6 separate regions of the Homo sapiens genome follow, and all the other regions are linked to region 5. The links are contacts of gene promoters, found by promoter capture Hi-C in blood cells and fetal thymus (Javierre and others, 2016). All regions are on one chromosome and are shown on one strand. Each heading gives the region's core, a stretch centred on a gene start or on the middle of the fragment in contact. The rest is flanking DNA. Distances are from core to core; before and after follow the strand shown. Region 1 overlaps SH3RF3 (SH3 domain containing ring finger 3). Region 2 has its middle 100 kb from the start of SEPTIN10. Region 3 has its middle 88 kb from the start of SEPTIN10. Region 4 holds the start of SOWAHC (sosondowah ankyrin repeat domain family member C). Region 5 holds the start of CCDC138 (coiled-coil domain containing 138). Region 6 overlaps SEPTIN10 (septin 10).

Evidence for each region. The method cuts DNA at HindIII sites, captures the fragments that hold promoters and counts their contacts. A CHiCAGO score of 5 or more calls a contact.
Region 1: a contact is called between a fragment that was not itself captured here and the fragment with the promoter of CCDC138 in region 5, in 1 of 17 cell types (naive CD8 T cells). The highest score is 5.3, in naive CD8 T cells.
Region 2: a contact is called between a fragment that was not itself captured here and the fragment with the promoter of CCDC138 in region 5, in 5 of 17 cell types (total CD4 T cells, naive CD8 T cells, non-activated CD4 T cells and 2 more). The highest score is 13.8, in total CD4 T cells.
Region 3: a fragment that was not itself captured here is called in contact with the fragment with the promoter of CCDC138 in region 5 in 2 of 17 cell types (total CD4 T cells and non-activated CD4 T cells); the score reaches 6.9 in total CD4 T cells.
Region 4: the fragment with the promoter of SOWAHC here is called in contact with the fragment with the promoter of CCDC138 in region 5 in 3 of 17 cell types (fetal thymus, total CD4 T cells and naive CD4 T cells); the score reaches 8.0 in fetal thymus.
Region 6: a fragment that was not itself captured here is called in contact with the fragment with the promoter of CCDC138 in region 5 in 1 of 17 cell types (activated CD4 T cells); the score reaches 5.6 in activated CD4 T cells.

Annotation. Positions count from the first base shown.
Region 1 is chr2:109,347,486-109,351,094 of GRCh38, reverse strand. SH3RF3 (SH3 domain containing ring finger 3) reads right to left here. Exons shown (of 10, transcript NM_001099289.3): 2 at 3,146-3,421. It also overlaps a transcript of RANBP2 not described here. Among named protein-coding and RNA genes, the nearest start is that of MIR4266, 36 kb to the right of the region's middle. RefSeq lists an enhancer at 1,984-2,053 and a silencer at 3,291-3,536. The HindIII fragment of the contact is 5,961 bases long and covers 1-3,609 here.
Region 2 is chr2:109,507,654-109,511,431 of GRCh38, reverse strand. It overlaps a transcript of RANBP2 not described here. Among named protein-coding and RNA genes, the nearest start is that of SEPTIN10, 100 kb to the left of the region's middle. The HindIII fragment of the contact is 5,398 bases long and covers 1-3,778 here.
Region 3 is chr2:109,523,955-109,527,624 of GRCh38, reverse strand. It overlaps a transcript of RANBP2 not described here. Among named protein-coding and RNA genes, the nearest start is that of SEPTIN10, 88 kb to the left of the region's middle. The HindIII fragment of the contact is 6,274 bases long and covers 1-3,670 here.
Region 4 is chr2:109,612,483-109,615,917 of GRCh38, reverse strand. It overlaps SOWAHC (sosondowah ankyrin repeat domain family member C), which reads right to left and starts at 1,554. Exons shown (of 1, transcript NM_023016.4): 1 at 1-1,554. The coding sequence starts at 1,428. SEPTIN10 (septin 10) reads left to right here and starts at 1,952. Exons shown (of 11, transcript NM_144710.5): 1 at 1,952-2,120. The coding sequence starts at 2,091. It also overlaps a transcript of RANBP2 not described here. RefSeq lists silencers at 1,501-1,670, 1,931-2,180, 2,211-2,300 and an enhancer at 2,153-3,062. The HindIII fragment of the contact is 4,568 bases long and covers 1-3,283 here.
Region 5 is chr2:108,784,932-108,788,727 of GRCh38, reverse strand. It overlaps CCDC138 (coiled-coil domain containing 138), which reads right to left and starts at 1,957. Exons shown (of 15, transcript NM_144978.3): 1 at 1,813-1,957; 2 at 639-696. The coding sequence starts at 1,905. RANBP2 (RAN binding protein 2) reads right to left here. Exons shown (of 29, transcript NM_006267.5): 29 at 2,919-3,796. RefSeq lists a silencer at 1,559-2,148. The HindIII fragment of the contact is 5,748 bases long and covers 1-2,613 here.
Region 6 is chr2:109,545,498-109,549,368 of GRCh38, reverse strand. It overlaps SEPTIN10 (septin 10), which reads left to right. Exons shown (of 11, transcript NM_144710.5): 10 at 3,132-3,319. It also overlaps a transcript of RANBP2 not described here. Among named protein-coding and RNA genes, the nearest start is that of SEPTIN10, 67 kb to the left of the region's middle. The HindIII fragment of the contact is 925 bases long and covers 1,639-2,563 here.

The DNA of each region.
Region 1 (3,609 bases), core at 357-2,856, 560 kb before region 5:
AAAGCTGCTTTACAAAAACTGATTATTCATTCTCTTCTGAAATAAAGCAGAAACTAGATTTTAGAAGGACTTTAATTAATGCCACTTTAACAGGACTATTCAAAAGCAAACACCAAAGGTAAAAATCTTGCTTTGATCCACCTAATTTAAACTCCATCAGTCTGCCACAGTGATGCTGTATAAAGGCAGGTTATACCATTGTAGCTTTCAGAGACCCTTCTTTCCTCTCTGACTCAGGAATGGAACATATCCAAAGAATAAAAACATTCCCCAGAGGGGAGACCAAGCTGGCATGAACCAGCACCTACGCTGCAGCACTGGAATCATTTGGTTCCTGGAGGTCTGATTCACATGGAGGTTGTCAGAGCCAGTGTGTGCGTCTCAGCTGCATGCCAGGCATGGGGGAAGTAAGGTGGGTCGGACCCACCGTGGGGGAAAACAGGAACTGAGCGGAGAGTCACATGGAGTTGCCCATGTCTCTTGGAGCCTTTATTTGCGGACACTGAGGAGTGAGAGATGCAACAGGACAGAACAGGTAGCAGGGGTGGCCAATCTCTGCCCGACCTCGCCCTTTGGGGGTCAGAGGGTCAAAGTGGGCATAGGAGCATGGCAGGAAGGTCGTGTCACAGCACAAGTCCCTCTGGGGATCACACCCAGAGGCCTCTAATTCTCCACATTAACTCACAGGATTCAAGTAAAGAAAGTCCTTGAACAAAGAATCTGTGATATGACACTTCCCCCTTGTCTGCTGTGGGAGCCGTCACAGATCCTGTAACAGGAGATGCTGGGCCTCCCGTGGCTGGCGCCTCTGACCTCAATTCAACCAAGAGGTCACCTTCCAGAGAGCCTGGGCAGCCATGGTGACATTGCCCACTTGGGAACAGATGGACCCCTGCTCGGCTACCCCCACCCCACATGCCAACCGCAGAATGAGTCTAAGCCTGATGGCTCTAATTTCACTGTTTCTTGTGAAATATGGAACATGGAATTCCATCACTGACTACTCAGGAGCCCACACTAAATGCCCGGCCTGCCCCTGGTGATCCGATGCAGCTCGTGAGCCTCTGGCCTGTCTTCTGCACATTCTCCACTGGCCTGTCTCCCGCACCTGACTCTGGGCTCCAGAAGAGCAGCAGGTCTAGTACCCGACACAGAGTCAGGGCCCGGTATGTTTCTGTGGAATAAATGGGCAGGTGCCCTTTGTCCTCTTGTCCAGTGGGCTCTAGCCTTCAGCCTGGGGTTGCACATCCTGGGCAGAGGCCCGTGGAATGCAGCAGGTTATATGGTGATGACAGGAAAGGCAGGCAGTCACTTCTGCCCAGAGAAGCAGGCCTACCCAGAGGCTCCAGGGCCCTGCGACAGCCCGTTCACAGTGGGTTCTCCCGAGTGGAGAGCCTCCTCCTGTGAGGCCCCTGGAGGAGGGCCTCGGCTCTGCAGCCTGGAGCCCGCCAAGCCTGGAGAAGCCTAGAGCCATTATGGGGTCTGTCTCCTTAGCAAGGCCCTGACCGGACCCTGAGAGTTCAGAGGTCCCTGCTCTTGGTCATGAGTGACCACCTGGGGCACCAGTGGTCCCAGGTCTTCTCTTAGGGGGAAGAGTCCACTGGGCAGAGAAGCAAGTTGGGTTTCTGTGTGCCTAAAAATAGCCCCAGGAAGCTGTTGCTCTCGCCCTCCGACTGAGTGGGGAGGGAGGGAGGCACCAGTGCAGTTTCCCGGGAAGCTGTGCAGCCAGATGACAATCGGAATTAGCATCAGAACACCTTGATAAAAGGAAGGGAGAAGGAGTTGAATCCCTGAATGAAAAATAGATTATTCATTGTCAGGCTGAACAATAGAACAAGACATAAATAGCAGCTGTACGCAGGACATGCCAATTTTGCTCAAAAACACTGTGCATGGTTCTCCTACCGCCCTCCAGAGAGTGCCACCTCGAGCTCTGCACTCAGCAGATGGGGGAGAGAGCAATGGCCTCTCAGAGGCAGGAAGGATGTGGGCTTTAGAAGCAGAGATTCGAGTTAGAATTCTAGTTCTGTTATTTACAACTCTGTGCGTGTGTGTGTGAGAGAGAGAGAGAGAGAAATACTGACACAGAGAGACACAGGCAAGACAGAACGAGTGAGGAGAGAGAAAACAACAACTTCTGGGCATCTAAAATACAGTGAGGCCGACATAAGGGAAGAATTCCCTGTGTAGGGAGGTGGGAAGAATGCTGAGTGTTAACATCAGAGATCTGCATTAGGATTCTGGCTCTGTCATTTACATCTGGGGGCGGCGGGGAGCAGGTGCAGCAGTGGCAGGGGATGGAGGAGACACAAGAGACAGGAGATGAAGATGGAAAGGAGGAAGGGGAAGCAGGAGGGAGAGAGGACCCAGCAAGCAGCCTGGATAAGTTACAAAGCCTCTCAGAGCTTTGGTTTACACATGGAGAAAACGAGGTTCCAACTACTTCCCCTGGAACCTGGGACAGCTGTAAAGACCAAGTGTGAGCTTATTGGCCGAGCACTTGGTGCAGATGATTATTCAACAGCAACTGCCAGGACAGCCAGAACCAGTCTCTTCTGCACCTCACCCAACCCTCCTACTCAATTTCACCTGTCAGTGCTATTTTGTTTGCTCCCAAATGTTTGCTTCACAGGGATCCCTACGCACCAGGGTGGCCCTGCCTCAGGTGCCCTAGAGGACAGGGCTGTGATGCACAGATGTGAGACCCCAGCTATCATCTCCCTGTGAGCTGACCAGGGTCTCTGTAGCAGTTTCCCCTGATGAGCCCCTCTCACAGGACCCCAAGAGTCCTGGAAAGGCGTCATTCTGCTGCACCTGGGTCAGCGCTTAGAGCCATGACTCAGGTTAACTGAGGGTTCTGCTCCTGGTGCTGATGGAGGCTTATATTATCTCAAGCTCCTATGTAGCTCTGGGCTGGAGCTGTGTGTCAAGCTGGTGCCCTCCATAGCATTCAACCAAAAAAAACCATCACCCCATTCATGGAAGCACAGGGAGGGAGGCTGGGTCATTTGCCCAGGGTTCCGGGAGGAGCCAGGATTCAGACTCTGAAGAAAGACTGTCTGGCTATAGGTCTGTGGCTGGGAAGAGCCCTGGGTGGCACAGAGGCTGCATGGGCTGGCGGGGCCCACCCCGGGGCTCACCTTACCTTGGTGAAGGTCAGACAGTCCTTGTCTTGGTCTTTGTCCTTCATCTCGAAATCATAAAGTGCTTTTCCCTGGGGCGGGGCGTGTGGCAAGGGCTGGATGCACTGGATATAGCTGGCTGGGAGGAAGCCCTGTGTGCCGTGCAGCTCGCCGTGGTACCACTGTTCATCCACCTTGCGCCGCAGGACGATGATGTCCCCCTTGTTGAACTTGAGGTCACCAGGTTCCTTCCCCTCGTAGCTGTAGAGGGCCTTGCCATAGGGAAGCAGGCAGGGATTCTGCAAGCAACAGACAGCATGTGGTCACCGGGCATGCCCCTTCCCAATGCCCCACAGTGGATCTGCCGGGGCAGGCCGGGGCTTCTCAGGGGCTTTCTGTGTCCTGGGGGTGCATACAGAGTGCCCCGCAAGTGGAAAATATTTTAAAGAAACAGCCTGTCACAGGAACATGCACATTCTGAGGCGCC
Region 2 (3,778 bases), core at 812-3,311, 720 kb before region 5:
GGATTGCGGGAGAACTTTTTGTTCTTTTTGATCAAAGAGTATGTTGTCACCAGATGGGGGCATGTGGTATACTGGGCCACCTGGTGCTGTCATCAGAGGCCACAGAGGACAGCTGAGAACTTGTTGTGGCTGTGGGACCTCATTCTCCAGTCCCGAGTCAGGCTTCAGGGAGCACTGTCACAGCAAGTCAGACAGGGACAAGTGTCAATGGCCCTGACATCAGCCAGGCCTCCCGAGGCCAAGAACAGGCTGAGGAGTTAGGAGTGCGGCCTTTGGAGCCAGACTGCCAGTGCTTGAATCCTAGGTGCCGCACCTCTTTGCCCCTTCCTGAGGCGAGTTGGTTAACTGCTCTCTGCCTCAGTTTCCCCATCTGTGAAATTGCATGGTCATAATTCCTACTTCATAAGCCTGATGTGAGGACAAAAACGAGGCAATGGATGTAGAGTGCTAAGCATGGGGCGGGCGCAGAGGGTGGGCTTAGTACATGCTTAACACGCACTTGCCATCTTCAGCACCCACGAGGAGGCCAGGGGCTCCTGGAAGGGCCCACTCCCCATAGCTCCGGCCACCCGTCCCACCTTTGCTCTCTGCCGCTTCCCCTGCAGGAAAGCCTCTCTTGCTTTTGTTGCAGTCACCCAGCATGGGCCCCACTCTGCTCACCCTGGCTTTAGCTGGAGGAGGCCAGCTCCTGGTCAGACGGGGCCCTTCCCCAGCCCAGGCTGGGCAGGGAGGAGGGGTCACCCCATGGCACACACAAGTGGCTGTTTTGTTGGGAAGGGGCTGTGGGTGCTCAGAGCCCCTGGTCCCGGCTAGGAACAGAAATGAAGCCCTGGACCCCATCAGCCCTCTGGGCTGCAGAGGGTGAGGATGGAACCGGGGTTCCTTCAGTCTGGTAGTCACTGCACAAATGTGAGAAGAGCTACCTCGGGGTTTCCCTCTAGGACATGTGGAAGGCTTCCCCTCGGCCTCCACATCGGACTGACTTGTCAAAGGACCCTCGGGGCTGTCTGCTCCCCCACATGCCCTCACCGCCCCCTTGGCAGAGACGCCTTGCCCTTTGCCCAGCATCTGCTGTGCCAGCTTCCCACATTCATACGAGCCATTCCCTGTGCCACCAACAGAGGGAGCTCCCGACACAGTTTGCATCTAAACACCCCTTGAGAGCCCAGGAAACACTGCCTCCTGCTTCTGGCCTGGAAGGCTCAGAGACCTACCCCTGGCCATTCTCACCTCAGCCCTCTCCTCCACACCTGCTCTGGGCTCCCTCAGTTTCTTGATCCTGCCAAGCTCTCCCCAGCCTCGGGTTGGGGTGTGCACACACACCGTTCCCGCCAACCGAACATTCTTTCCCCTCTTCCTGCCTTGTGAATTTCTAAACAAGACTACAGTGTGGAGGTCCAGATAAGACCCGGACACCCTCTAAGTGGCCCTCCATGCCCCTCACCTCTCCAACTAGATAAGAGTTTCCTGCGATCCCTTAGTACTTTGCCCTATAGTATTTGCCCGGTAGCTATCGCCTAGTTATTTTGATTAATTTAACTTTTGACTTCATTATGACCTGGTCTCCATGAGCACAGGCACATGGGCTGAATTATGTTCCCCGAAAATTCATATGTTGAAGTCCTAGCCCCCAGTGCCTCAGCGTGTGTCTCTGCTTGGAGATTAAATTAAAATGAGTCCATTGGTGGGCCTAATCTGGCCTGACTGGTGTCCTTGTGAGAAGGGTGAGGGTGCAGGGGGTGGAGGATGAGAAATTGCTTAAAGGGGACATGTCATGTATGTTATTCGGGTGATGGATACACTAAAACTCCTGACTTGACCACTATGGCATGTAACAAAATTGCACCCCATAAATTTACACAAATTCATTTTAAAAAGAAGAGGAACACTGGATACAGACGCACAGAGATGAATCCGGGCAAGACGACCCGCCACAGCTGCTTGACAGAGTGAGGAGACGGCGGTGTGCAAGCCGAGGAGAGAGGTCTCAGAGGAAACCAACCCTGCTGCAACTTCAACCTTGGACTTCCAGCCTCCAGCACTTTGAGAGAATATATTTCTGTTGTTTCAGCCACGCAGTGCATGGTATTTTGATATGGCAGCCTAAGTGACTGATACAGGCACGTGGGTTTGCACACTTCTTTCCATAGCACCAAACACCGCATAATCTGACAGGCGGCTGGGCCCCACCAGGCAGACCTCCAGGAAGGCCTGAATACATGAGGTGGGTCCTCTTGCCTGGATTCATCTCCGTGACCCTGGTGCTGGGCCCAGAGCAGAAGTAGCTGTTGAATGAATGAGTAGAGTGGGAAGGGGTGGAGAGAAGATGCCCAGACCCAGGCAAGTCCTGTGTGACCCTGACGGATGGGCACTTCCTTCCATTTCTCCCGGCAGGAATGGGTAAGCTGGTTGTGAGCTCCTTGACTCATGTGCTGGTGTTGTGTATTCTTGCCAAGAACGTCCAGAGGAAGCGCTCTGGGACCCATCATGGAGTGGACTGCATCCCCCCGTCCCGGGCTTGTAGCGCCTTTGCTCCTCAGGCACAGACTGCCGAGTCCATGACTACCCACACGGCTTGCCTTCCTCTCCAGATGTGAACTCTGGCTGGGGTGGGCAGCTGTGTCTCTCCTTTCATGCCTTATCTGGGGTGCCCTGTCTGAGCACTTACATTCATCTGTGACTGCTCACTGATCTGATAAGTGAGTGGGTGAAGCCAGGCCATCGAGGGGTGTGGTGAGTGGGTGTCCCATGTGACACTTCCTGGCTGTCTCCAGGCTTTCATCTGCTTCCATTTTTTTTTTTTGGAACATTACAGAACGTTACTTTTTCCAAATAAAGAGTTCTTTCTTCACATTTGTAATGATGTCCACGTCTGTTGACGTTTCCTCTGGGACTTCTTTTAGATCCAGTTTTTATATCTCATTTTCCTAAATATGGTATGGTGGCCCTCGGAAGACGCGTGCTTTTGCACAGTGCCATGGGGTTCCAGGGCAATGTCCTGGAGGAGCGGCCCTGGGGAGTGTGCGTCTGCAGTTTTTGTCTGCCCGGTCATGAGCTCCTTTTGTTTTTGCCAATAGCTCTACGTGTATCTTCTCACCCCCACTCTCAATCCATGAAGTCTGGGCAGGGCTGACACCTCAGGCGCTATCAATCAGTATATACATGTCCCCTGTCCAAAATGGCTGAGTCAGGGAGGGCAGCACGGGCCCAAACGGAGCCAGTGAGAGTCAATGCCAGGGTTTTGGCTGGGCCCATGGAGAAGGAGCAGGCCTATTTTTGCAGGGATGGGGAAGGTGTCAGATGGCACCCTGAACCTGCTGGTCCTCATTGTGCTGTAAGATGGGGAAATCTGCTGAGGAAGGAGCCACGTGGAGGGCAGCAGAGCCCAGCAATACCCACAAACGTCATGTGAGCACCTGGACCCAGCTATGCCTGAAGCAAACTCATCTACACCAGCGTTTCTTAGTGAACCCACCACTCTTGGCATTTGGGACAGGACAGGCTTTGCCCACGTGGGACGATTGTACACATTGCAAGATATCCCACATCCCTAGGTCCAGCAGAATGCCAAGTGTCCTCATGGAACACCAGCCCCATCATTTGCACACGTCTGATTGTCTGCCCTCAGCTTTTCAGTTGAGTCAAGAAGTCCTCTTTTGACTTATTCCAGTTGGTTTTTGGGGCAGGTTCAAATGATGGGCCCTGGACAAACAGCTGCTGCCATTTTCTTGGGTGTCTGGGATTTAACCCTTACCATGTTAAACACCAGCTGACCCTG
Region 3 (3,670 bases), core at 499-2,998, 740 kb before region 5:
CCTAGAAAATTCACATGATTCGATACTATGAACTCACCTATGGGATTCATCCTAATGTGGCTGTGGGTCCAGTGACATCCGTTCTCATGCCCAGGGTCCCACAGGGCCTGCGTTATTCCTCTTGGGGGTCTTCCAGTCCATGGTGGCTCCCCAGTCTCTGGAGTTTAGGATCTGTGAGACACATCTCAGGTGTGGGGAAATGCCTCCAGCACGTCTGTTTCTTATGTTACTCAAACTCCTTTCCCGCTGCAGGGGAAGGACACAAACACCATCCTTGTCCTAACATACCATGTTCTGCCTGTGTCAGCTTCCTAGGCAAGCAACTGGTTTTCCAGAGATGGGCTGCCTGGGGCCCAGGCCTCTCTGCTTAGTCTCCAGGACCAGCACAGTGAAGGCGTGCGGCAGCTGATGGATGCACTTTGGCTGAGCTGGGTTCAGGCACACACATCTGCTTCGTGTGGGTTTGTGTGAGGTGTTGCACATGTAAACATTTGTAGGTATGTGTATTTGTGCACGTGTGTGTGTGTAGGGTCATCTGGTAGCTATTGTAAAAATCCATTATTTCTATAAGCTAAATTAAGACATTTAATTGGTCAAGCACAATTTGTCAAGTGTGAGCTTTATGGCAAGCACTATCCTCATTAGACACTACACCAAGTCCTTGTGCATACCCAGCCCCCACGCAGGCAGGCTCGAGCCTCGTGCTAGAGTCGAACATGTGCTGGCTGAGGCAGACACATCTCTGAGAACACATTTGTAGGCCATCAGAGAGGGTCTCCTAGAGAGGAAGCAGCCCACCAGAGGGTTGAATAGGAATTCACCAGGCTGAGGTGGTCCCAGGCAAGGGTGGAGAGAGGGTGCATCTGGGGACCCAAGAGCCGGGGAGAATATCAATTGCAGCTGTCATCGGTGAGCCCCCTGTGCCAGAGTGCATGGCAGACACATCCGTGCACTTCCTCCCACCCTTGGGCCTCCAGAAAGTCTGCTTTCTGGTGTCATTCAAAGAGGAGGTGAGCCGGGCGTGGTGGCTCACACCTGTAATCCGAGCACTTTGGGAGACCAAGGCAGGTGGATCACTTGAGGTCAGGAGTTCGACACCAGCCTGGCTAACATGGCAAAACCCTGCCTCTACTAAAAATACAAAAATAAATAAGGCATGGTGGCACATGCCTGTAGTCCCAGCTAACTACTTGGAAGGCTGAGGCACGAGAATTGCTTGAACCCCAGAGGTGGAGGTTGCAGCGAGCTGAGATCAGACCACTGCACTCCAGCTTGGGCGACAGAATGAGACTCCATCTCAAAAAAATAAAAAATAAAAAGGAGGTGAGAGTGGCTCAGAGAGGCTGGTGCCTTGCCCAGGGCCACAGGCAACAGCAGGCAGCCCTGGGCTTAAACCCAAGAAAGGAAGCCTGTGCCTCGAATTTGAGGTCTCAGAGGGTGGCAGATGAGCTTTCCTGAGAGACAAAAGAGGGAAATAGCATCTGTGAAAAGACATAAGGAACTTAGTCTGGTGCTTACTGTGCCCTGATTCCTGGTCACCTGTGGGCGTGTGTCAGGGGCCCTGATGGTGACTGGTTGTGGTGGCTCTGGTGCTCGGGATTGCGAGCAGCTCCAGAACCTGGGTGACACCACCTCCCCACTCACTGGGCCACAGTGGGCTGCAGAGACTGTTAATGCTGAGGCTTCTGAGCTGGGAAAATTAGCAATAGCAGCACAAAGAAAATTACCCTCCATCTGCTTCCAATGACAATGGTAGGACCAGAGAGATCCCAAAACCTGAACAGAGGAGGAAACTCGGAGCCACATCCAGGACAGGCCTCCAGCAGGTAGGAAGTGCAAGTAGGAAACGCATCAATGATTTAGGGAGGAGGCTGCTTTTGCTAGTAAGGACAGTGGCCAGAGGGCCACTGAGAGCCTCCTCTCTGGCATCTTACAACAAATGGGCACCGAGCAGGTTGTCCTGAGCTACCCTGATGGTGACCAAGTTGTTGTCCAGGAATGTTTCCATCCTGCCCTGAATGCCGGGTGCTGGACCTCCTCATGGCTGCAGTGCCCTGGGGTTCACGTCACCAGCCCACCACTTTGTGGTTGGCGTCAGCTCGGGGAGTGTAGGCCTGTGGGGCTCCGGCTGGTGAGGGTGCAGGTAACTAGCACTTTCAGCCCTCAGGCATGGTGGCTCATGCCTGTAATCCCAGCACTTTGGGAGGCCAAGGTGGGCAGATCATTTGAGGTCAGGAGTTCGAGACCAGCCTGGCCAAGATGGTGAAAACCTGTCTCTATTTCTTGTAAAAATTCAAAAAAAATTAGCTGGGCGTGGTGGCACATGCCTGTAGTCCCAGCTACTCAGGAGGCTGAGGCAGAAGAATCTCTCGAACCCGGGAGGCAGAGGTTGCAGTGAGCCAAGACCGCGTCACTGCACTCCAGCCTGGGTGACAGAGTGAGACTCTGTCTCAAAAACCAAACAAAAAACAAAAACAAAAACAAAAATGATGTCAAGGGATATTTGCTGAAGCCTCATCCATAACCACAAAAAAAAAAAAAAAAACAACGGTAAGGAGCCTAAATGCCCACCATGGGAAAGTGTTGAACTAGTCTGTGATGTGGGGACAGCAGGCAGCTGCAGAAGCACTGAGTGAAGATGCAGAGGACGGATGAATCCTGACCCTGCTGAAAGGAACATAACTGAAGATCTGCGCCGAGGAGGAACCCAGGGCTTGGGAATTCCATGTGCCATTTGTTTCCTTCTTGATTCTTTTCCCTTCTTTTCTATATATTCTATAATTAGGACTTTCTCATTTAGAAACCCTTAAAAATTTAAAAATGGAAGGCCTTTTTAGATTTTTTAATTTTAATTTTTATTTATTTATTTATATATTTTTTGAGATGGAGTCTTTCTCTGTCACCCAGGATGGAGTGCAGTGGCGCGATCTCAGCTCACTGCAACCTCTGCCTCCCAGGTTCAAGAGATTCTCCTGCCTCAGCTGGAATTACAGGCATGCTCCACCACGCCTGGCTAATTTCTGTATTTTTAGTAGAGACAGGGTTTCACCATGTTGGCCAGGCTGGTCTCGAACTCCTAGCCTCAAGTAATCTGCCTACCTCGGCCTCCCAAAGCGCTGGGATTACAGGCGTGAGCCATCGCGCCCAGTGTTGTTTTGTTTTTTTTTTTTTTTTTTTTTTGAGACAGGGTCCCACTCTGTCACCCTAAGATCCCTAGCAGGAGCTGATATTCACAGAGCGTGTTATGGCTGCTTCACTCCGGCTTTCACACACATGATCTCATTCAAATCCCCATGTCATGAGAAGGTGACAGTGGGCAGCGTGTGACCACTGAGCCGTCCTTACAGTGGATGGAGGTCAGAGAACTGCCCTCTGAGCCCCAGGTCCTCCCTACCAGCTAGAGCCTTTGGACAAGCTGTGTGGCTTCCCTGAGCCTGAGTTTTTATTTGTGCAATGGAGGGAGTGTCCTGCTCTTGCGCCACTAGGCCCTGACCTTATGCATGATGTGCAGAACGGAGGCCCACGGAGTCCCAGTGAGGCTGGGGAGGTGAGACCAGGCAGGTGTGCATGGAACAGCCCCTGCTCCTGTCCCTCGGGGAAGGCAGGAGGTGGCCCAGGACTCTGAAGGATGCAGGTGGGCGGCTGTGATGCAGACAGCTACATGGGGCAG
Region 4 (3,435 bases), core at 305-2,804, 830 kb before region 5:
TCGGATTTTGTTGAGTCTGGGTTTTATACGTCCACTAGAGCTGCCCGAGGCTTTGCGCCCTGGATCCTTGGCTTTGCCTCCGACCCACCCCTCAGCCGAGTGGTGATGGTGGTGATGGTCCCCTCCATCTTCTAGGGCGTGTGAGAGTTTGTAGGTGATGAGATGCGAGGGAAGCACCTTTGAAAGCCTCCAGCGCCCGCCGCCGCTACCCGCGGCGCTTTCCCCGTCACCCTCGTCCAGGGCTCCCACCAGGTTCTTGATCTCCTCGGCGATGCTCCGACTCAGGTACTGGGAGGCCTTTTTCCCACTGTAGTCCCTGATGTCCACATCGGCGTCGTAGGCCCCCACCAGCAGCTTCACCACCTCCACGTGGCCGTGCATGGCTGCCAAGTGCAGGGCGGTGTAACCCCCGCTCGTCCTGGCGTCGATGTTCACCGGCAGCTGGTGTTTGTTGGCGAAGTTGACTAGCATGGCCAGAAGCTCCTGCCTGCCGTGCTTGGCGGCCCAGTGCAGGCAAGTGAAGCCGGTAATGAAGTCCCGCTTGACCAGCAGGCCGGGCTCGCAGGTGAGCAAGCCCTCCAGGCTGTCCCACTTGCCATCGGAGGCAGAGAGCATCCACGCGTGCTCCAGGGGGTCCAGCGTCACGGAGCCTCCGCCGCTGCTCTCCTCCTCCGCGGACGACGAGGCCACCGATGCGCTGTCTGAGTCGCCCCCGCCTCTGCCGCGTCCTCCCCCGGAGGAGCTGCCCGGGCTGCTGCCCCCGGGACACACGCTCCTCTTCAGCTGCGGGGAGCTGCCCATCACCAGGTCACGGAGGTTCTGGCGGGCCGGCCTCTGTGCGGTAGCCCCCACAAGGGAGCTGCCCCTGTCCGCCTCCTCGCAGCCATGTGGCGGGAGCTCCAGGTCCTCGCTGGGCCCCGGGGCTGGAGTCCGCGGTAGGGGCTGCACGTCGCGCCGCGAGTTCTTCCTGCGAGCCCCGGCGCTCAGGGGCGGCCAGTGCGCGGGGGCGGGGGGCTCTCCCTCGCCCAGCTCGCGGCCCTGTCCAGGGAGCGACTCCGGGGCCGCCGCGTCGGGGAGCCGATCGCGCGCCTCGGGCCCGGCAGGGCCGTCGGGGGCCTCGGGCTCGGCGGTCACCTGGATTCGCGGCGGGTCCCCGGAGGGCTCGGACGGCCCTTCACAGAACCTCTTCTTGAGGTGCACGTACTTGGCGCCGTCGGCGGGATCGACGCGCACAGTGGCCACGGCGTTCACCAGCTCCTTGAAGTGCGCGCGGGCGCGGGCGCGCTGCTCCGGTTCGCCGCCTAGGGCGCCCCTGAAGTGCTGCACCAGCTCGGCGTGCAGGGCCCGGCCCCCGCGCTCCGCCAGGAAGCGCAGCACCGCCTCGGGGCCCAGCGCCGCCTCGGGGCCCCACTCTGCCGGCCCCTCCATCCTCGACCGCGCTGCTCCCCCGCCAGCGGGCGGCTCAGCGCGGTCCCATAGCGACGGGCTCCCAGCGGCCGGCTCCCGACGGCGGCGGAGTCTGGCGGGCTCAGCGGGCTGCCAGCCTACGCGTCTGAGGCCAGAGGACTCGGCCACCGCCTCACTGGGCCGCGCCCGGGCGGACACGCCCCCCGCACCCCCGCCCCGCGCCCACGCCACCAGGCCACGCCCACTTCCGCTCCCCGCTGTCTCGGCCACACCTACCTAGGGCGGCCTCGCCTCAAGGCCCGCCCACTTCCGGCCTCGCGAGGGCCGCAATCACTGCTCCGCAGTTCCCGCCTGCATTCCTCGCGCCGTCTTCCTGGAGTCCCAGCTCTCCTTCAGCCCGCCCCAACGCTGACGCTCAGTCCTCAGGCGTCGAGGGTAGCTCCTGTGAGGGGCTCGCTTGGCGCAGGCAAAACGCTCAGCGCGCACCACAGGGCGTCCGCCCCAACCCCGCCCCCGGAGGCCTCCAGCTCGGCCCCGCCCCTGTCCCTTCCCCGTCGCGGAGGCAGCCTAGCCTCGCGCCCCGCCCGTTGCTTCTGCCCTCCGGCCTTCCCGCCGCCGTCGCCGGGACCAGCCGCTCGGGGCCGGGCTGATACAGCCGCTTCACCGTGCCCCTGCCCGCGACCATGGCCTCCTCCGAGGTGGCGCGGCACCTGGTGAGTCCCGCCGACGCCGGGGCCCCAGCCCCGCGCTCCCCGGCCCCCGCGGGACTTCCCGCCCTCGACCCACCGGCCCCCTGGTCCGGCCCGGGATTGTGACCCGCGCCCCCTCCGGCCCCGCCCGCCCAGTGCTCCCCGGCTTCCGCGGCGGCCGGGCGCCTGGGGCGGGAGAGGAGCCTCTGCGGAGCCTGGGCGCGGCCGGACCCCGGTTCGCGGGGCGCGGCGCCAGCGTCGGGACGGTGGGAGAGTTCTTGAACGACTTCCCGGTCTTTGCCAAAAGTTACATCCACAGCGGTGTTTGTGGGTCTCTTACGGCTATAACGGAGTTGAAGGCGCAGTGCGGACTGATTGAATAGCGGTCATCTTTTGCAGCCGTGAGCACTTCCGAGCCTCCCTGCCGCCGGGAGAAAGCCCGGCTCCCCTGGCTTTTCAAAAGCTCTCCCGTTTTATCCGATGGTGTGGTCGTCCAAGTTTTCCTCCATTGGGATTTTAAACCGTTTTTTTCCCGCCTTGACTCTTTTGTACTCTAAAAGAACGCGTTTGTTCACTGTTTTGAACCTTTCCAGTTACTTTTGTAGATTTATCTCGCTTGTTAGTAAGCCAGCGGTTTTCCAAGTGTGGTTACAACTATTTTCGTTAATAGTACCAAGGTCGTGTACATCGAGTTTTCCAAAGGCTACATGGTATGGAGTGATCTCACCGCCGTTTGGAGGCCCGATGCCTGTGTATTCTTAAAAACAAATTCTCCCTTTTAATTTTTGATAGTAAACATTGGTGGTTTTCATCTGTGTAAACAAAAGCTCTTTGGAGGCTGGAGACCAAAAAGTTTGAGAACCACTCTACTAAGCAACCTCCTACATGAGAAGTTTAAATTGTAGAAACAGTTCAGATTGCAGGCTGAGAGATTAGAGGATCCGTCCAAAGTGACACCGTTGGTTTGTTTTATAGAACCTGGACAAAGATTTTTCTCCCTGATTCAGCCCAGGTCTCTTTTCATTCTATCGCGTATTTTTTAAAAATCTCAAATTTTCTGTCTGGACCCCCTTGTCTCAGTTGCTGTGTTTGTGTGCATGTGTGAGTGAGGGAAAATTGAGGGGTCCTGGTGAGGAAAATGTGTTTTATAAATTCTTTGATTCATAGATTACGTATCCAAACAAGCTTGAGCAGAAGAGAACACTTCATTTAGCTGATGTTAGATTTATTTTTAATTGTACTTAATTTGCTTTGAGGCTAACTTTACTTATTTTCGAATTAAACTGTATTTTGCGTTAATTGTAGATTAATATGCAGTTGTAAGAAATAATACAGTATA
Region 5 (3,796 bases), core at 708-3,207:
TTTTCTTTGAGACGGAGTCTCGCTCTGTCACCCAGGCTGGAGTGCAGTGGCGCAATCTCGGCTCACTGCAAGCTCCGTCTCCCGGGTTCACCCCATTCTCCTGCCTCAGCCTCCTGAGTAGCCGGGACTACAGGAGCCCGCCACCACACCCGGCTAATTTTTTGTATTTTTTTTAGTAGAGACGGGGTTTCACCGTGTTAGCTAGGATGGTCTCCATCTCCTGACCTCGTGATCCGCCCGCCTCGCCTCCCAAAGTGCTGGGATTACAGGCGTGAGCCACCGCGCGCAGCCTATTTTTTTCTTTTTTGAGACTGAGTTTCGCTCTTGTTGCCCAGGCTGGAGTGTAGTGGCGCCATCTCGGCTCACTGCAACCTCTGCCTCCCGGGTTCAACCGATTCTCCTGCCTCAGCCTTCCCAGCAGTTGGGATTACAGGCGCCCGCCACCATGCTCGGCTAATTTTTTGTATCTTTAGTAGAGACGGGATTTCACTATGTTGGCCTGAGTGGTCTCGAACTCCTGACCTCAGGTGATTCGCCTGCCTCGGCCTCCCAAAGTGCTGGGATTACAGGCGTGAGCCACCGCGCCCAGCCTCAAATTAAATTTTTGAAACCCCCAAATATACAAAATACCGGCTTACCTGGGGAGGTTAGAGTTCTTCTCTTATACTTAGACTGATAAAAATTTGAAAAATCATACTAAAAAAAAAAAGAAAAGATTTAATTTGTATACTAAAAATCAATTTACTGTCTCAAAATATTTCCCCACAAATTATGTATTAATTACAAAGGTTAGAGTGGAGAAATCTTGTAGACACCATCTTAACCAAGTGATCAAAACTAATATCATCAATAATGTGACAAACCAACGTCATGTTCCTCCCCACAGCAGGCCACACATCACTCATCTCATGCTCCTGCCAAAAATGCATAATCAATCTAACGAAGAAGCATCTATAAGATAAACCCAAACGGAGAAACAATCCAATAAATAATTCTTACACTTCTCAAAAAAAAAACAACCTTACAGAAAACAAAGGCTGTGAACCTGTTCCAGATTAAAGGCAACAAAAAGGACAATCAAATACAATCAATGCTCGTTCTTGGGTCGGATCTGCACTAGGAAAAAATTTTCCTATAAAAGGTTTTATCGAGATAATTGCTGAAATTTCTTATGAACTCTAGATTACCAAATATTATACCAATTCTAAATTTCCTGAAAATATTACTGTGGTTATTAAAAGACAACGTCCTTATGCTTAGGAAAAATGCACAAGTTATTTCTATTCAGAGGTAAAGGGGCATGATGCCTGCAAATCACCCTCAAATAGTTCAAAGGGAAAAAATGCGTTTGTAGGGAGGGAAGGGGAGAGAACGAATGGTAAAGCCAATGTGGCAAAATATTAATTTGTGAATGCAAGTGAGGGTACAAGGGAATTCTTGGTAATACTGCAGCAACTTTTGAGTAAGTCCGAAATTATTTCGAAATAAGCCGCTTTTAAAAAGCAATTCAATTGTTTTCACAACTCCACTCACATCACTGCAAAAAAAAGCTGAATAGCACTTTCTCCAACACCACACCATGCCCAGTATACCAGGAACACAGAGGCATAGGTGAAGCGGCACCCCCGCACCCCCGCAGCGCAACGCCCGCCCCTCCCGCCTGCTTCCACGAGGCCCAAGCCGCAGCCACGGCGGGAGTGCCGGGGCCGGGACCAGAGCCGCTGCGCGCCCCCAGGCCGGCTGCGCGGGGCACGGAGCGGGCCGCCCCCCAGCAGCAGGAGCCCACCCGCGGACCTCAGGCGGCGGCTTCACCTCGTCGGGGCAGCTGCCCCCGAGTCCGTAGCGGCTTTTGAGACTCTCCACTACTAAATCCTGCCCCGGTGGCTTGACGACCCTCGGCTCCATAGCACACAGCAACCGTACCAGTCTCCCCGGGAACCGCGTTCATCAAACCCGCGGCGCTACGCGGCCGCAGTGCGTCACGACGTGCCAGACCCCGCCCCCCCGAGGCACGCACGGCGGCAGGGAAAGGGCGGGGCGGGGCGACCCGGAGACTGCAGCCCGGCTTGTCAGCGCGTCCTCCAAGTTTCTCGTGCTAGCACTACACACCTCGTAACTGAGTAGTATTGCATCTCCCCGCGATAGTCCTGCCCCGGCTGCCTGGGTGCCACGGGTTGAGGGGCACCGAGGCCCCGCACCTGCCTGCAGCGCTCCGCTCCAGCTCCATTTAACCTGTTAAGTTTGGTGTGCGTTGCGCTCACCACATAGACCGGTCGTTCCATCAGAAGTGACCTTTGCTAACTGCCATATAAAAGAAAAACCAAGAGTATATCTGAGCCGGGAGTGGTGGCGCGCGTGTAGTCCCGGCTGCTAAGGAGGCTGAGGCGGGAGCATTGCTTTGAGCCTGAGAGTTACATCTATCTTGGGTAACATAGCAAGACTCCCATCTCTTAAAGTTAAAAAAAAAAAAAAAAAGGGAAAGCTGAGCATAGACATTGCAGATTACCTCACTTTCCCTGTGTTCCATATGGGGTATAACAGGGTATTAAAAAGAATAGTTAGAATGTAAGCACCCTGGAAAAAAAACTTTTTTTTTTTGAAAAGAAAAAAGCTTTTGCCAATACCTACAACAGTGCTAACCATAGTACATAGTATACATCAACCTGAAAACCTATGTTAAACAAAACTGACTGAGGGGAACTGTACAACCACTTCATTTTTCTCATTCATAAAATTACAGTGGTGTAATCTTTTACTTTCTAAATTGTGACTGTCAGCTGCATCTCTGGACTAACAACTCCTAAATTCTCTGGATTAAAGTTCCCAAATGCCCAAGTTTTATAAAATCTGTACTTCAGCAGTTATTATCTGAAAATTACTTAGGCCATACTTTTTGCCATAAAGTACCACTTAAGATGTACAAATAATGAATTTTATTCTATCTTTAAGCAGATTTTAATGAGACAACATAAAATCCAGTTTAAAAGGAAAGATACATATTATCGTGGGTTTAGACCACATCAGTGATTAAATAACAAAGAGAAATCAAAGTCCTTTCCTGAAATGTGACACAAAGACTTTCTCATAAATGCCACAAGCCACTTTTAAGCATCTTTGGAATACTAATACGGGAAAAGTCAGTTTACATGTCATTTTGTCAAATTTTTGGTCAAAGTTTTTAAAGCTTTTTAATTTGTAACTTTAGTGCTTTAGGAAAGCATACAAATCTGTAAAAAGTCTCTTAAAAAGCACTTGCATTAACTTAAGAATTTATTCTAAAATCATGACGAAGGCATCAACTGTCTCAGCTGAAAAGTTACAACACACTTTACATCAGTTTATATTACATAGATTTCCAAATAAGCCAATTTGAAATATTTAGTGTAAACATATGTAATCCATGGTTCAAGACTGAACTGATACATTTGGAGTAGGTTTATTTCAAGTATCTGGCTTTGTGGCCGAGTGGAATGGTGATGGTATACCATCACTCATTACTCGCACAACATCCCTCCCCTCTTTTGACTGGTGGTTGAACAGTTACTTGCTTTAGGATACCCAATTTCCAAATCCCCATGTAACAGGGAATAAACCTGTCTTTCCTCACTAAATAAAATGAGGTAATTTCACCCGAAAGAACACAGATGGGTGGAAGACAGTCAATATTCATAATTGCAATATACAAAATTTTGTGTTCTACCTGGATTCTTTGTAGTTCCATATTGAGTAGGCCAATAAGAACATCCTCTTTTCTTTAGCAATTTGCCTAACATTTGATACAAGCCATTTCCAAATA
Region 6 (3,871 bases), core at 852-3,351, 760 kb before region 5:
CTCATGAATGATGTATAAAGTGCTGTGTGACCTTTCAAGATATTTTAATATTCATGTGAGGTATGCAACCTCCATTTGAGTAACCAGAGAGCTATCTCTAGTCATGTGATAGAAACCTGCCCTTGCTGCTTCCTTTCCAGACTTTGTCCCACTCCTGCTCCTCTCCCACATCACCGATGCACACGTGTGCAGAGAACTGCCACTCTTTGTTTGTGCCACCGATTTGAATGACATCTGGGGAGTGTGCCCTTTAAACACACACACATACCTAACATGTAACTTTTTTAAAAGCAGGAACCATTTAAATAAGCAAATACTAAGGAACTGATGCTTCTCTGAAAAGGCATCCTCTGGAATAAAAGCATCTTATGTTAGGAGGGCCTTAATCGATTATCTGTTTTAACCTTGTTTCCCTTGGAATACTTCTCCTATCAGGTGGTCACTGGCTCACAGGACAACCTATTCCATATTTGGAACATAACAGTTTTATTAGACCAGAGTTTAGCTCTCTGGTTTCTTCTCTCAGTCTCTGATTTTCAGTGAAATATTTCCTCAAATATTATGTCTTTTTTTTTTTTTTTTTTTTTTTTTTTGAGATGGAGCCTAACTCTGTGGCCCAAGCTGGAGTGCAATGGCGCTATCTCGGCTCACTGCAACCTCGGCCTCCCGGCTTCAGGCAATTCTCCTGTCTCAGCCTCCCGAGTAGCTGGGACTACAGGCGCACACTGCCACACCTGGTTAATTTTTTGTATTTTAGTAGAGACGGGGTTTCCCCGTGTTGCCCAGGCTGGTCTTGAACTCCTGAGCTCAGGCAATCCACCCACCTCGGCCTCCCAAACGTCTCCCCCTTTCTAGACAACTTGGTGTCTTAGAAAAAGATAACATAGCCAGGCGCTGTGGCTCATGCGTGTAAACCTCCGTGAGCCAATGAGCCTGTAAACCTCAATGAGCCATCACGCCCAGCTATGTCGTCTTTTTCTAGACACCAAGTCCTGCTTTGTTTGCATGAATGCCAGGTTTCTACCCAGAACTAAAATGTTAATGTCAGATTTACCTAACCAGATCAGAGGACCAAAAATAAGGTTATCTTTTAAAATGTAGATTCTAGACACTGTGGTTGTGTTGTTAGAGGGCACAGCACACAGCTGATTCCTATGGAGCTGGCTTAAGACCCTAGTTTTTTTTTTTTTTGAGGTAAGCCACAATTAAACCAGGTCCACCTACATTCTCCTTGGACCTTGTCTCTCTGAACTGCATGCAGAACTTCACATAACTTTCATCTGTATTTCCTCTCATTACTAGTTCTTCTACATCTTTTAGAATTCTTTTATGAGCAGTATTGTGTGCTGTGCTGGGGGTATAAAAATGAAAAAGACATAGCTCCTAAGTAATCCTCAGGGAGACGTTGCTCCCACAGTTACCCCAGCACATGTGTGCTAAGGGTTTCTCTTTTGCACCTGTAACAGAGCACAGGACACAGAAAGAACTACCCAGGGTGGCAGCTGGAGCAAGCTGAGTTTCCTATTTTTTGTTATTAACAATGGCTAATATTTATCGAGTGCTTACTCAGTGCCAGCCATCATGGTAAAAACGTTAGATAGATGTTTTCTTTTGGTATATCCCAGTTGTTTTAAAGCTTCCTTTTTATTTGTAAGTTTCCAGAGTTTTATGCCCTTCATAGCTTTGAGAAATATGCCTTCTATGATCCATATAGGGCATTCCTTAAATTGTGGAACAAAATAAATTAAAAGGCCTGCCCCAAAATTGACATCTAAGGTGACATTGCTCCCTTTATATGGTTTATCAAGATGATTTTCAGCCCCAAGGAGGTGAAAAACTGCTGAATTGTATTCTTTAAATAATTTTTTCTTCTGCTTTTTTCACTTAAGAGAAATCTCTTGAAACTCATTTAACAGTTGTATACGGGAAGAATAACCCCTATAGGTTCTTATTGGAATGACCCCTTATTTTCAGATTAACCAAAAAAAAAAAAAAAAAACAAGTTTATTAGCATGTATATTTCACATATACAGGGGTGATACAGTCAATGAGTAGTTCTCAAAGAGGCGACTGCATTCTACCTTCTATAGCATCTTCAACAAAGAACAGTTAATTTTTACAGAAATGACAAGACAAAGGAAAAGGACTTGGAGTCTCTAGAGGCAGCAACTTGGAGGAAGGCACATAGCTGGCAGATGAAGGCTAGTCAGTAAAGCTAGTTAATGTAGAGCTGTCTGGTACCAGTCTCCAGGCCCAAAAGGGTCTGAAGTTGTCTTTGGTGGTTAACCTTTGTTCTCCCTGGTTGGGGAAGGGGGCTGGATACCTTTTTTCTTTGTACATCTGTATCCTGCCTTTAGGCGCCTAAAGGGAGGTCAGAGAGCTTTCCTGTATCTGCTGCTTCTTAGTTGCCCTCAGCTCAACAGTCCTGCACATTCTGCTCTCCTACAGCTGCATCAAATGTATTTAGCATTAATTTATTCTTTATCTTTATTGGCTATGTAGGCAATGTTTTTCCTATTATAGTGTAAATTCTACTATGATGAGTATTTTTATATGTAAAGCTTTCTCTGAATTTAGGATTTTTTTAAGCCTAGATCTCAGGACATTGAAAGACTATGGAAAAATAGAATACAGTTTTAACATTCTTGACATAGTTGACAATTGACACTTGCTTTCCAGTGATGTTTACTAGTACAGTTTTCAATAACTGTTTACTGCATATATTTTATTTGGAAAATAGTGTTGTTGTTTTTTTCCTTTCTGGTAATTTCTTTCTATACTTTGCATCTCTTATTTTTATTGAGCATGGACTTGAGAGACTTTAAGAAGTTTTGTAGGGAAAATACACACCGAGAAAATAAAAACTCTAGGAAAAGTTCACAATGTTTTAAAAATAGTTTTGTACATAAAGCTATGATTTTTGCATGGGAACTCATTTAAATTAAAGTTACCAAGGGAATTCCATATGTAAACTTTTCCTTGAACTATGAACTTCTGAGACTTCAGAAAGATTTTGACTGTGTAGGTTATTCTGTGTTGCGCTATGGGGTCCGCCTTTGTGTTGCTGAGCTGGAGAGCGTGCCTCTGCTGCCGCGCTGTGTCAGTAGTGGGGATTGCACTTTTGTTTCCAGCTACAGGCCAAATTTGAGCACCTTAAGAGACTTCACCAAGAAGAGAGAATGAAGCTTGAAGAAAAGAGAAGACTTTTGGAAGAAGAAATAATTGCTTTCTCTAAAAAGAAAGCTACCTCCGAGATATTTCACAGCCAGTCCTTTCTGGCAACAGGCAGCAACCTGAGGAAGGACAAGGACCGTAAGAAGTAAGAGGCCCAGCCACCCTCCCTGGCAGCCCTGCCCACACTTGTCACATTGCCCTGTCGGATCTTCCTAGCGCTTCTTACTTCTGCTTCCTTATGCTTTGTCTTCCTTCTCCAACTAAATGTCAGCTCCTGGAGAGGAGAGACCTTGTCCCTCTTGTTCACTGCTGTTTCCCCAGCATCCAGAACAGCACCTGGCACATGTTATGTGTTCAGTATTTGCCAAAATGAATGAATGAACAAAATAAAAATACATCACAGTGTGAAAAGGATCAGTTAGCTGGGGGAAAATGGCTGCTCTTATTGAATAGCCCAGCCGTGGCCCTAGTACACAGCTAATGGCTGCTGACCTACCATGAGTTATTTTGAATTTCATGTCTAAATAAAGCTGTGCCCTTTGTTGGGGAATTATAGACATAAGATAGTATTTTATTGAATTAATTCTTAGGTTCAGTTTTTTAGAACAAATTCTACTGATACTGATTTTGTGAGAATTTTTATTTTAATAAGGGAACCAGGCTGTCGATTCGAACTCCTGTGCATTGATGTCAGAGC